Linked DNA regions of Homo sapiens: region 1 is linked to region 2. Evidence: promoter capture Hi-C in 16 types of primary human blood cells and fetal thymus (Javierre and others, 2016). All regions are on one chromosome and are shown on one strand. The core of a region is centred on a gene start or on the middle of the fragment in contact, and the rest is flanking DNA. Distances in the headings are between cores, read along the strand shown. Region 1 overlaps RAE1 (ribonucleic acid export 1). Region 2 holds the start of FAM210B (family with sequence similarity 210 member B).

Region 1 (5,012 bases), core at 1,233-3,732, 1.0 Mb after region 2:
AGATGACTGTGCCTTCTGAACTTTGGAAGCTTCCCAGTGCTCAGCATAAGGTGTGGTCCACACTGACTAACACGAACGATTCTCACCTACCATGTTCTTTTTCCTAAGTTCATCCCTAATGGCAGAAATGTTCTCTCCCAACTTGAAGGTTGAGGTAGAGGAATAGAGTGAAAGTAATATTTATTAAGAACCTGTAGTGCTTTAGGCAGTGTGTGTGTGTGGCTTCATTTAGTTCTCATAACTCTGTGAAGTAGATATTAGTGTCTCTGTTTTACAGATGAGAAAATCAAGGTTAAGTGACCCGTCCAAAGCCGTGTAACCAGCACCTGGACTGATTGCAGAAGCCTTGTCATGCCTTTGTTCGTTCATACAGCCAACTGGTGTTTCAAGTACCTCTGCATTTGAGGGCAGAAGTGTGGCCGGCAAGGACCACATCCCCTCACGTTCACTAAAATGTACATGTGCTTGTAGCTGTTGCTCTGACCTTTTGTTCTGCACTTATTTTTCATGAAGCTGAGGAAACTCAAATGCCTTCCCCAAATTCCTTGCAGTTTCTCCGTTCTGTGTTGTCTTGTTAGCAAGGATGTCACTCAGCCATTTGGCTCCCTTTGGAGAGGTGACTGGTATGGAGGACTTTTCAGCGTAACAGGTAGTAGGATTGAAATGTGGTTTCAGTGTACGTAACTCCTCGGGGAGTTGGAAGGAAAAAAGAAGGGAAAAGTCGTTTATTGTACCCACTATGAACTAGATACTGCATTTTCTACATAATCTGATTTGATCCCCAGAGCAGCCCTGGAGAATGTGTTAATGTTCTCTATGTTTGCAGAGCAGGAAAATGAAGACTGGTGAGATTAGAGTCCCAACTCCTGAGTGGCAAGAGGCCCTGACCAAACCCTGGTGGGCCTGTTAGATTATGATATTCAAGAAAAAACCCAGGGTGGGAGAGGTTCTTGCTGGGTAAATGTCCAAAACACGATGCCCGACCTTTTTAAAACTTTTACGAAGAAATTGCTGATTCGCTTCCCGGACTGGTTGTTCTAGGTAGTTTCATGCGGATGCTGACCTAAACTAGAATGTAGAAATTAGTAGGAAAGTGAATGCCCACTAGGTGGAAACCTGAAAGCACGGGGACCTGCGATCTTGTTTACTGTTATATTCCTGCTGCGCAGCTCAGGGTCTCTATGTAAAAAATGAGTGAATTTATTTTCTAGCTGGTGCCTACAAAATAATCTGCAATGTATCCATACTGGTTTATTAATGGTAACAAATGAACCGTACTAATATGAGATAATAGGGGAAACTAGATATGGAGTGTATGGGAATTCTATCTTTACTATTTCTGGAAACCTAAAACTACTCTAAAATAGAAGGTTTATGTTTTGAAAGCACTCTGCTCATTGCGCTCTTGTCTGAAAAGTGAAGCCTGGCCTCAAGCCACTTTGAGTATTTCTCTTCTGCCAGTTAATTATCTTACCATTGCCTCTCAGTGATATTAAGAGAAAACCCATCCTTAACATTTTTCATTACTTTTTAGGTTCAAAATGAGCCTGTTTGGAACAACCTCAGGTTTTGGAACCAGTGGGACCAGCATGTTTGGCAGTGCAACTACAGACAATCACAATCCCATGAAGGTACCACGAAAAGCTTCCTGGGGCTTGTAGGAAGAGTTTGGGCAGAGTTTCTCCCATCAAGGACAGAACCCGAGATGACTTGGGAGCCTCCTTTAGGCTGAAAGCTTTGAAACTTTGTCTAACTCATGTTTCTGAAACACTGGAGCACAGAAAATGTGTCCCCGTACTTGTGTCCTGTTCTTCCTGGCCTGCCAGGTCTCCAGAATCACCCAAGGTGCAGATTCCGGTGCAGATTCCCAGGGCCTGGCCCAGCCAGGACTGTTGACTCAGAATTCCCATGGTTGGAGAGAGGGGATGGCAGGTGAAAACTGTGATCTAGCACTGTGGGGCCAGAGTGAACTGGTCATTTAGAAAACAAGACCATGGGCATTTCATTAGCAGCTGCTACTGCTAGTCCTGGTGGTGCTGGTACTTTCTCTAGCTTATTTTTTACTCCTGTCTTTGATCAAAGTAAGGAAAGGTCTAATTCAGTTAGTTCTTGTACACAAGGAAAGGCCACCGTGAGGTAATTAGTGAGAAAGAAAACAATTTGGAATGAAGTTGTGAGCGTGCATACATTTTAACATTGACTTTTTTCCCGCAGGATATTGAAGTAACATCATCTCCTGATGATAGCATTGGTTGTCTGTCTTTTAGCCCACCAACCTTGCCGGGGAACTTTCTTATTGCAGGATCATGGGCTAATGATGTAAGTGCTCCTTAAATACGTGTTCTAGAAATCATCTCTCTTTGTATGGCCAAGGTTAGCTTTAGCTCCGTTGTTTCCCAAGTAAATGAATCAGTTGGACTTATTTATGGCCTTTTTTGAGAAATCAATTTAGGGGGTGTGAACCCTTCTGAATGGCAGACATTATTCTTACACCCGTTTTTGTTAGGAAAGCACAATCATATGTGTTGCTCGAAATTTTCTACTTTAGTTCAGTCTCTTGAAGTTTATTCCCAAATCAAATATCATATTCATCCAGAGTGAACATTATACCCAGTGGCACACACCAACAAATTCCCTTTCTTGGCATCCTGACAGTGTTCCTCAGGCATGTATGAAACTTTTTCAACGTTAAATAATAGCACAGATTTGCCTAGATACTTACTCATCATGTACAAAAAGAAAGACAAAAAAATTACAGTTTACTAAAAGAAAGAAAACTCTGGTAGAAAAATAAGCAAAGGGTGTAAAGAGGGACTTCACAAAAGAAAGAATAAACCTGAACCATTCATCCATGCTTGTAATCAGATAAATGCAAATTTAAGACTTTTTTTTATTAAATTAACAAAATTAAAAGTTTAAAAGAATAATAGTGCCAGCAAGGATAAGCTGAAACCCTGCATGTATGGCTGGTAGGTATGTAAGTTGGCTTTTCCACAGGATAATTGGCAATAGTTATCAAAAATCCTTCAGCTTATACCCTTTATCTCACTGATACCCTTCTGGGACTTGAGTAGGAAATCTGATAATGTACTTCATCTGCATTATCTAAATTAACCTTTATAACAGCCAAAGCACTGTGAACTTGTGAAAATTTTGAAAATTTTAATATCCAGTAGTAATGGCAATGTATAGTATGTTTGTATGATGGAATACCATTGTAAGTTTTTGGAAAAGCTTTTGAACTGTAGCCTACAGCACAGGGGCAGCAGGGGTTAGGAGAACAGGAGGGAGGATGGTAGTCAAGGTTGAGCAAGCTTGCTTTCTACATGTAATTTTTAGAAAGATTTCAGATTATTTGCTGCTTAAAAAAAGGATGTTTCAAGTTGAACAGGCTAGTGATGCAGGTGAGGAAAGCTGTAGCTGCAAAAGTGAAGACACTGTATAATCTAGTGTCTTCCAGAAAATATGCGTACATGGAAAGAAGACTAAGAGCACACAGAACCATTAGCTGTGGTTGTCTGTGGTGTGATTAGGGTGATTTTTATTTTTTTGCCATATTTACAAAATCTCTAAAATGTATTACTTTTTTAACGGAGGGGAGATTATATAAAGTATTCAGAAAAGAGGTAAGTTTCTACTTTGGTCTTGATTCTCTGAATGGTAATGGGTAAGTGATATTCTACTTTAAAAGACATATCTCATAGATGCATTGAGAAAATTATCTGCAATTTTATGTGTAAGCAATAGAATTTGTTTATTTTAATAGCTTAGGCGAAGAAAACAGTTGCTTTCATAGATATTTTAATTCCTTTGTTCTTGAAGTTAGATAATTAGGTTGCTATGAGAAGTCTATGTATGGTTAAGGTGTACCCCATTAGTTTTTAGGTGTTAAATGCAAGCAATACATCGTAATTGCTTTGTTTGCATTGAATTTTTTTGTTACTACAGGTTCGCTGCTGGGAAGTTCAAGACAGTGGACAGACCATTCCAAAAGCCCAGCAGATGCACACTGGGCCTGTGCTTGATGTCTGCTGGAGTGACGTACGTTCCCTTCCATTTCTCGTGTTCCATTTTACTTAAAGTACAGAATGATTTAGAATATTTAATAATCCAAACACAAATAGCATATATGTGTTCATATTGTAGGAATTCTAAGTTTCTGAACATAAATATAGTCATTTATTGATGTTCTTAATGTTGGCTTTAGTTAGCCACTTTCTTTGAAAGCTTTTCTTGTATTAAATTTTGTGTGTGTGATTGAGGAGAGTTTAATGATTAAGGGATAATTTATGAAGAAGCCAGCAGGGAAGGTGAAACACCGGTGCCAAGCTGCAGTGGGCGGGCCTCCTGGAGCACAGCATGAGCTGCAGCTGTAGAGGGGCTTCCACCTGGCGCGGGAGAGCCAGGGGATGAACAGCTGTAGACGGGCCTCGGCCTGGCGAGGGGAGCCAGGGGTTGAACACCCCAGCCTCTCTCCTCCCTTCTCCTGCCATTGCTGCTGGTGGCTGAACCCAACAGTAGTGAGAATGTTAAGGGGCCTGGTGACAGGCAGACACACTGCAGTGCTGAAGAAGCTAAGCCTTGAGGCCCCTTCCGAGGCCTTGTACCTGTTCCTTTAGTCAGGTTTATTGAGTCTGATTTGCCTGCTGTAAAACTGAACCTTTTTGGTATACAGCTCTGTGAGTGTTAAGAAATGCATAGAGTTGTGTTCTAGATATAGAACAGATCCATCGGCCTCCAAATTCTCTTCCTTCCTTTTGTCGTCAAATCCTTCCCAGCTCGCAGCCCCTGGAAACTACTCATCTGTTTTTTTTGTCCCTATAGTTTTGCTTTTACAAGAGTATCATCTAAATAAATCCTATAGGGTGCAACCTTTGCGCTCAGCATGTTGCATTAACGTATGGTGATTGTTTTGTCAGATATATTTCCTATGTTTGGGGTGGGATGCTGGAAATTAGGACAAGCATTGAGATATAGCATCTGCAAAATGCTAATGTAAGTGGTAGGAGTTT
Region 2 (4,841 bases), core at 1,281-3,780:
ATAGTTCATGCATGAGCTGCTGCTCTAGAGAGACAAAGAGAGCTGACACAATAAGAAAAAAACAAAACTGTCACAAGTTCAGGCAGGCAGCAGCTCCAATACATTTTGTTAAAAGCAAAAGTTTCTTCACTTTTAGAAGAAGAAAAAAAGAACCTAAAGTCTATAATTACAGTATTATATTTACTGTCAAATTTAAAGGGAAAAACAAAATTACCTTTTTCTCTTCTCTAATAAGCATATAGCATGAATCACAAACTCAACTGCCCATGAAGCCTGGGCAGGAAACTTAAATGAATGAAGAAGGCCTGGTGACAAGAAAATCACGGGCGCTTTGGGAGGCCGAGGCAGGAGGATCACGAGGTCAGGAGATCGAGACCATCCTGGCTAACATAGTGAAACCCCGTCTCTACTAAAAATACAAAAAATTAGCCAGGCGTGGTGGCGGGCGCCTGTAGTCCCAGCTACTTGGGAGGCTGAGGCAGGAGAATGGCATGAACCCGGGAGGCTGAGGTTGCAGTGAGCTGAGACCGCGCCACTGCACTCCAGCCTGGGCGACAAAGCGAGACTCCATCTCCAAAAAAAAAAAAAAAAGAAAGAAAATCATGGGAACCATGAGGAAGTCGAGATCAGATGCCATCTGGAGGTGGCACTGTCACCGGGTGACAGAGGGGCTTCAGGCAAGGCATCTCTACAACATCCCAGCTAACGTGTGTGCCCTCTCTGTGCACCAGGCACTGAGTGAAGCCCTTTCCAAGAACTGTGTCAAAGAATTATCTCAACAATCTCATGGGGGAAACTATTATTATCTTCATTTTACACATGAAAAGACCAAGGCTCAGAGAAGTTGAGTCACTACTTCCAAATCACACAGCTGGACTTCTAGGGCCAACCTGACAGACAATCTGCACCCTTAAGCACTCTTCCCCAGCTTCTTGCAGACACTTAAATGGAAGGATTCCCATCCAGGGGCACTTTAGGACCTCCCTCCAACAGACCCTGTTACTTTCACAGCTATAACTCCATCTTATGTAATAAATATTTTTTAATGCATATGTGTTTAATATCATTTCTGTGCCTGTGTAAGAGCTTGGTTGAGTTGAATTGCAGTTGACTAATAGAATATTACATCTTTTGTAAAATATATTTCTTTTTCTTTTTCTAGAGAGACAGGGTCTCGCTCTGTCACCCAGGCTGGAGTGCAGTAGCACCATCGTGGCTCCCTGAAACCTGGACCTCCTGAGCTCAAGCAATTCTGCGTCAGCCTCCCGAGTAGTTGGGACTACAGGTGCATGCCACCACACCAGGCTAATTTATTTTTATTTTTGTAGTGACAGGGTTTCGCTATGTTGCTCAGGCTGGTCTTGAACTCCTGAGCTCAAGTAATCCTCCCACCTCAGCCTCCCAACGTGCTTGGATTATAGGCATGAGCCATTCCACCCAGCCAGAACATCTTTATTGAAGTATAATTTACACAGCATAAAATTCATCCATGTTAAGTGTACAGTCCCACGAGTTTTAGTTACACAGCTGTCACCATCCCTACAATCTGGGTTTAGGATCCTTCCCTCACCCCAAGACGTTCCTCCCACTCCTTGGCAGTCAATCTCATTTCCCACTCCCAGCCCTAGGCCACCACGGATCTGTTTTAGGTCTCTGTGATTTTGCCTATTCTGGGCACTTCATGTAGCTGGAATCCTCCAGTGTGTGACTTTTGTGCCTAGATTTTTTCAATTGGCATAAGAGCTTTGAGATTCATTTATGTTGTGCATGTATCAGTAGTCTGTTCCCTTTAATTGTTGCATTGCGTCCCATTGAAGACTTGTGCCACAGTACGTCCCAGTTTATGGGCATTCCTAATTGTTGACTAATATTTATAAGATCTCTACAAACATTGGTGTCTTCACATTTTAGTCTTTGAGTGTCGAGCCTTTGTTTCTCTTGAGAAGCTACCGAGGAGTGGAGTTGCTGGGTTGTATGGTTAGTGTATGTCTAACTTTTCAAGAAACTGCCACACCATCTTTCGCTTTACATTCACGCCAACAATCTATGAGGGTCAGAGGACTTTTTATTAAACATGTACTAATATCAATTCTCATATTTATTTTCTTCTTTGGAGCTAACACGTAAACATATCTATAATTTTTTTTCAGATTTCACCCATTTCTGCAGGGAGAAAAGCTCATAAGCCACGGCCCTACGCCCACCTTTGTGCCCGCAGAATAAGGAAACCCGCCAACTACACACCACAGTTAGAAAGCCCAAGACCCTGAAAAGACCTGCACCCACCCCCAAAGGGGCGGGGCTGGTGGGCGGAGAGGAGGCGGGGCGCGCTCCTTCAGCCCCGCCCACCAGCCCTGGACTCCGGCTCCCGAGGAGCGGAGCTAGCGGGTGAGCCAAGGGGATGTGCACAGGCCTCCTCAGTCCCGCCCAGCGCGCGCGCGCGGCGGCGAAGCCGGCGGGCGGGGCCGGGGAGGGCCCTCGCCGGGTCAGCTCCGCCCACCCTCCCCGGCCTCCGCCCGCCTCCCGGGTCAGCGGCGCGGGTGCTGCGCCTAGCTGCGCACCATGGCCGGGTTGCTGGCGTTGCTGGGTCCGGCAGGCAGGGTGGGCGCCCGGGTCCGGCCTCGCGCCACCTGGCTCCTGGGCGCCACCGCCCCCTGCGCCCCGCCGCCCCTGGCCCTGGCCCTGCTCCCGCCCAGGCTAGACGCCCGGCTGCTCCGCACGGCGCGCGGGGACTGCCGCGGCCACCAGGTAAGCACCCCACCCCGACCCTGATCCCGGGCGGTGTCCAGGTCCCCAGACGTCCGCAGGGCCGCGCCGGGGTCCGGCCGCCTCCGCCAAGGACGCCTTTGCACTTGTAGCTGCCCGGGACCGAGCTCTTCCAGGGTCCCCGAAACCCCAAATCCCTGCAAGCCAAGGAAGCGATCCTCCTAGTTGACAGCCAGAGAAACTGAGGCTCGGGAAGGTGTGGCGCTCTGCCCAAGGTCGCGCAGTCTTCGGCCGAGCCCCGGGTCTGCAGAGCCTCAGCCAGGCTGGGGCGCAGCCGACTGACTTGGTCTGAACTTCCACACGTTGCCTGCGGAGTTGTTGTCCAGGCCTTCTGGCTGGGTCTCGCTGTGTTTTGAACACCTCCCGACGCTCGCTGCTCCTCCCTTTTCTTCTGAGTGGAAGAGCAGGCGTCCTCAGGGAAGCCGCGGGCAAGAAACCCACAGTGCTGTTTGTTATGTTTCATTTCCGTCACTTTCCATTGGTGCTAAGTGAAAACTGGTTTTCCTTCAGAGCAGTCATACCAGCTTTCCTTTCAAGAAATCTATCACTTTCTTCCAAGTGAGTCTTTTTAAATAAAAATAGTAGTAAATGAAGTCTGGCGGTCCAGGAATGGCAAGCCCAGACACGCGGAGCCGGCGTCCAGCCCGGAGCGCATCCGGCCTGGCAGTCTGGAGCCTCTTTGTTTGCCTGGGTGCAGACAGGGCCCCTCCATTCATCGCCCGGTGACCTCAGACCGAGTCCTGAAGGCTTTTGAGCTTGTTTTCTGACCTTTAGAGGGCCAAAAATAGCACCTTCCCAGCAAGAGTTTGGGAGACAACTCCATGAGCTGGTGCAGGCCTCAGCGGAGTGCCGCCGGCCCAGCGAACATCTCCTGACCGTTTCCTAGCTTTTCAGTAAGGAGCGGATGGGGATTGGACCCAGGCTTTCATCATGCCTCCTGCCCAGATCAACTTCCTTCCTTGCCTTCTCCAGTCCGACAGGTGGCACACAGGTCTTGGGGATCCTCTCCAGAGTGGCACCTTCTGCACACACCGTGCCGCCTCCTGATGATTCTTCAGGGCCCAGCCCAGCTGTTCCTTCCTCCGGGAAGCCCTCTCTAACGACCTGTGAGGTCTCGGATGCCTCCACTGGGCCTGCTTCCACCCCATGGCTGTGGGTCTTCTCTGCACTCATCTGGAATGGCCTCTTGTCCTGCCTGTCAGCCACATTGACCTTGTCCCCAGCTCAGGCCCTGGCACTGGAGCGGTGTGTGTGTATACAGTGGCAAAGAGTTGGCCTCAGACTCCCTGGATTCCTCTCTCTACTCACTTGTTGTTGACTTTGATCAAATTCCCTTCTCTCTATCTCAGGCCCCTCATCTGTAAAATGGGACGTTAATAATTCAGACTTCATAGAATATGAATGTAAAATGAGATATGTTCATACCTGGCATCTGGTGTGTCCTAAATTAAGGTTAGAAATGACTATAATTGCAGTAAATATATACAGTCACAAGGCCCCAGGGCCCCGTGAGCTGTCCTTGTTTCTTCTGCACCGTGGTAAAATCGGCAGAAACCCAAGTGGGATCAGAACCTCAAAGGAGATTAGGACAAAAGATAACTCATCTGCCTGAGAAAACGCGTCCCCAGCAGGGCCTGGGAGCAGTGCAGGGAGGGTCTGGGCTTGGCCAGAGCCCAGAACCTCCCCTGTCGTCTGTTCTGGCCGCCCACCCTCGTCGGGAGGTAGGAGTGTGCTGCCCAGCTGGGCTCTCCAAATTTGCCAGGTGTTTAATTAAGAGCCAAAGAGGCCCACCCACGCTGCCTTGGCAGGGGGTCTCTGTAAGAGGGGTAGGGAAAGCCACAGAAGAGACCTGCCTTTTTGTCTTAACATGATTCCATGTCCTGTAAACCGCCTAGCAGCCCCGCCTGCCTGTGCCACTTATTCCTTCCAGGGACGTAGGGGGAGTTCAGGCAGATGACTTGCTCTCCCAGAGCCCCAGTGTCCTTTTGTCTCCGTCAGTTCTGGTTCCAGTGGCACCTTTTCAGGGAGACCTTCCCTGATGGCCTTATTTAACATTCCTCCTACTCCCTGTCTCC

What was found. Contacts are between HindIII fragments. The CHiCAGO score rates a contact against its expected background, and 5 or more counts as called.
Region 1: a contact is called between a fragment that was not itself captured here and the fragment with the promoter of FAM210B in region 2, in 1 of 17 cell types (naive CD8 T cells). The highest score is 5.3, in naive CD8 T cells.

What each region holds. Positions count from the first base shown.
Region 1 is chr20:57,352,498-57,357,509 of GRCh38, forward strand. RAE1 (ribonucleic acid export 1) reads left to right here. Exons shown (of 12, transcript NM_003610.4): 2 at 1,535-1,631; 3 at 2,215-2,319; 4 at 3,949-4,041. The coding sequence starts at 1,542. It also overlaps the pseudogene MTND1P9. Among named protein-coding and RNA genes, the nearest start is that of RAE1, 3.7 kb to the left of the region's middle. The HindIII fragment of the contact is 1,499 bases long and covers 1,734-3,232 here.
Region 2 is chr20:56,356,444-56,361,284 of GRCh38, forward strand. FAM210B (family with sequence similarity 210 member B) reads left to right here and starts at 2,531. Exons shown (of 3, transcript NM_080821.3): 1 at 2,531-2,748. The coding sequence starts at 2,563. RefSeq lists a silencer at 2,208-2,807. The HindIII fragment of the contact is 7,749 bases long and covers 1-4,841 here.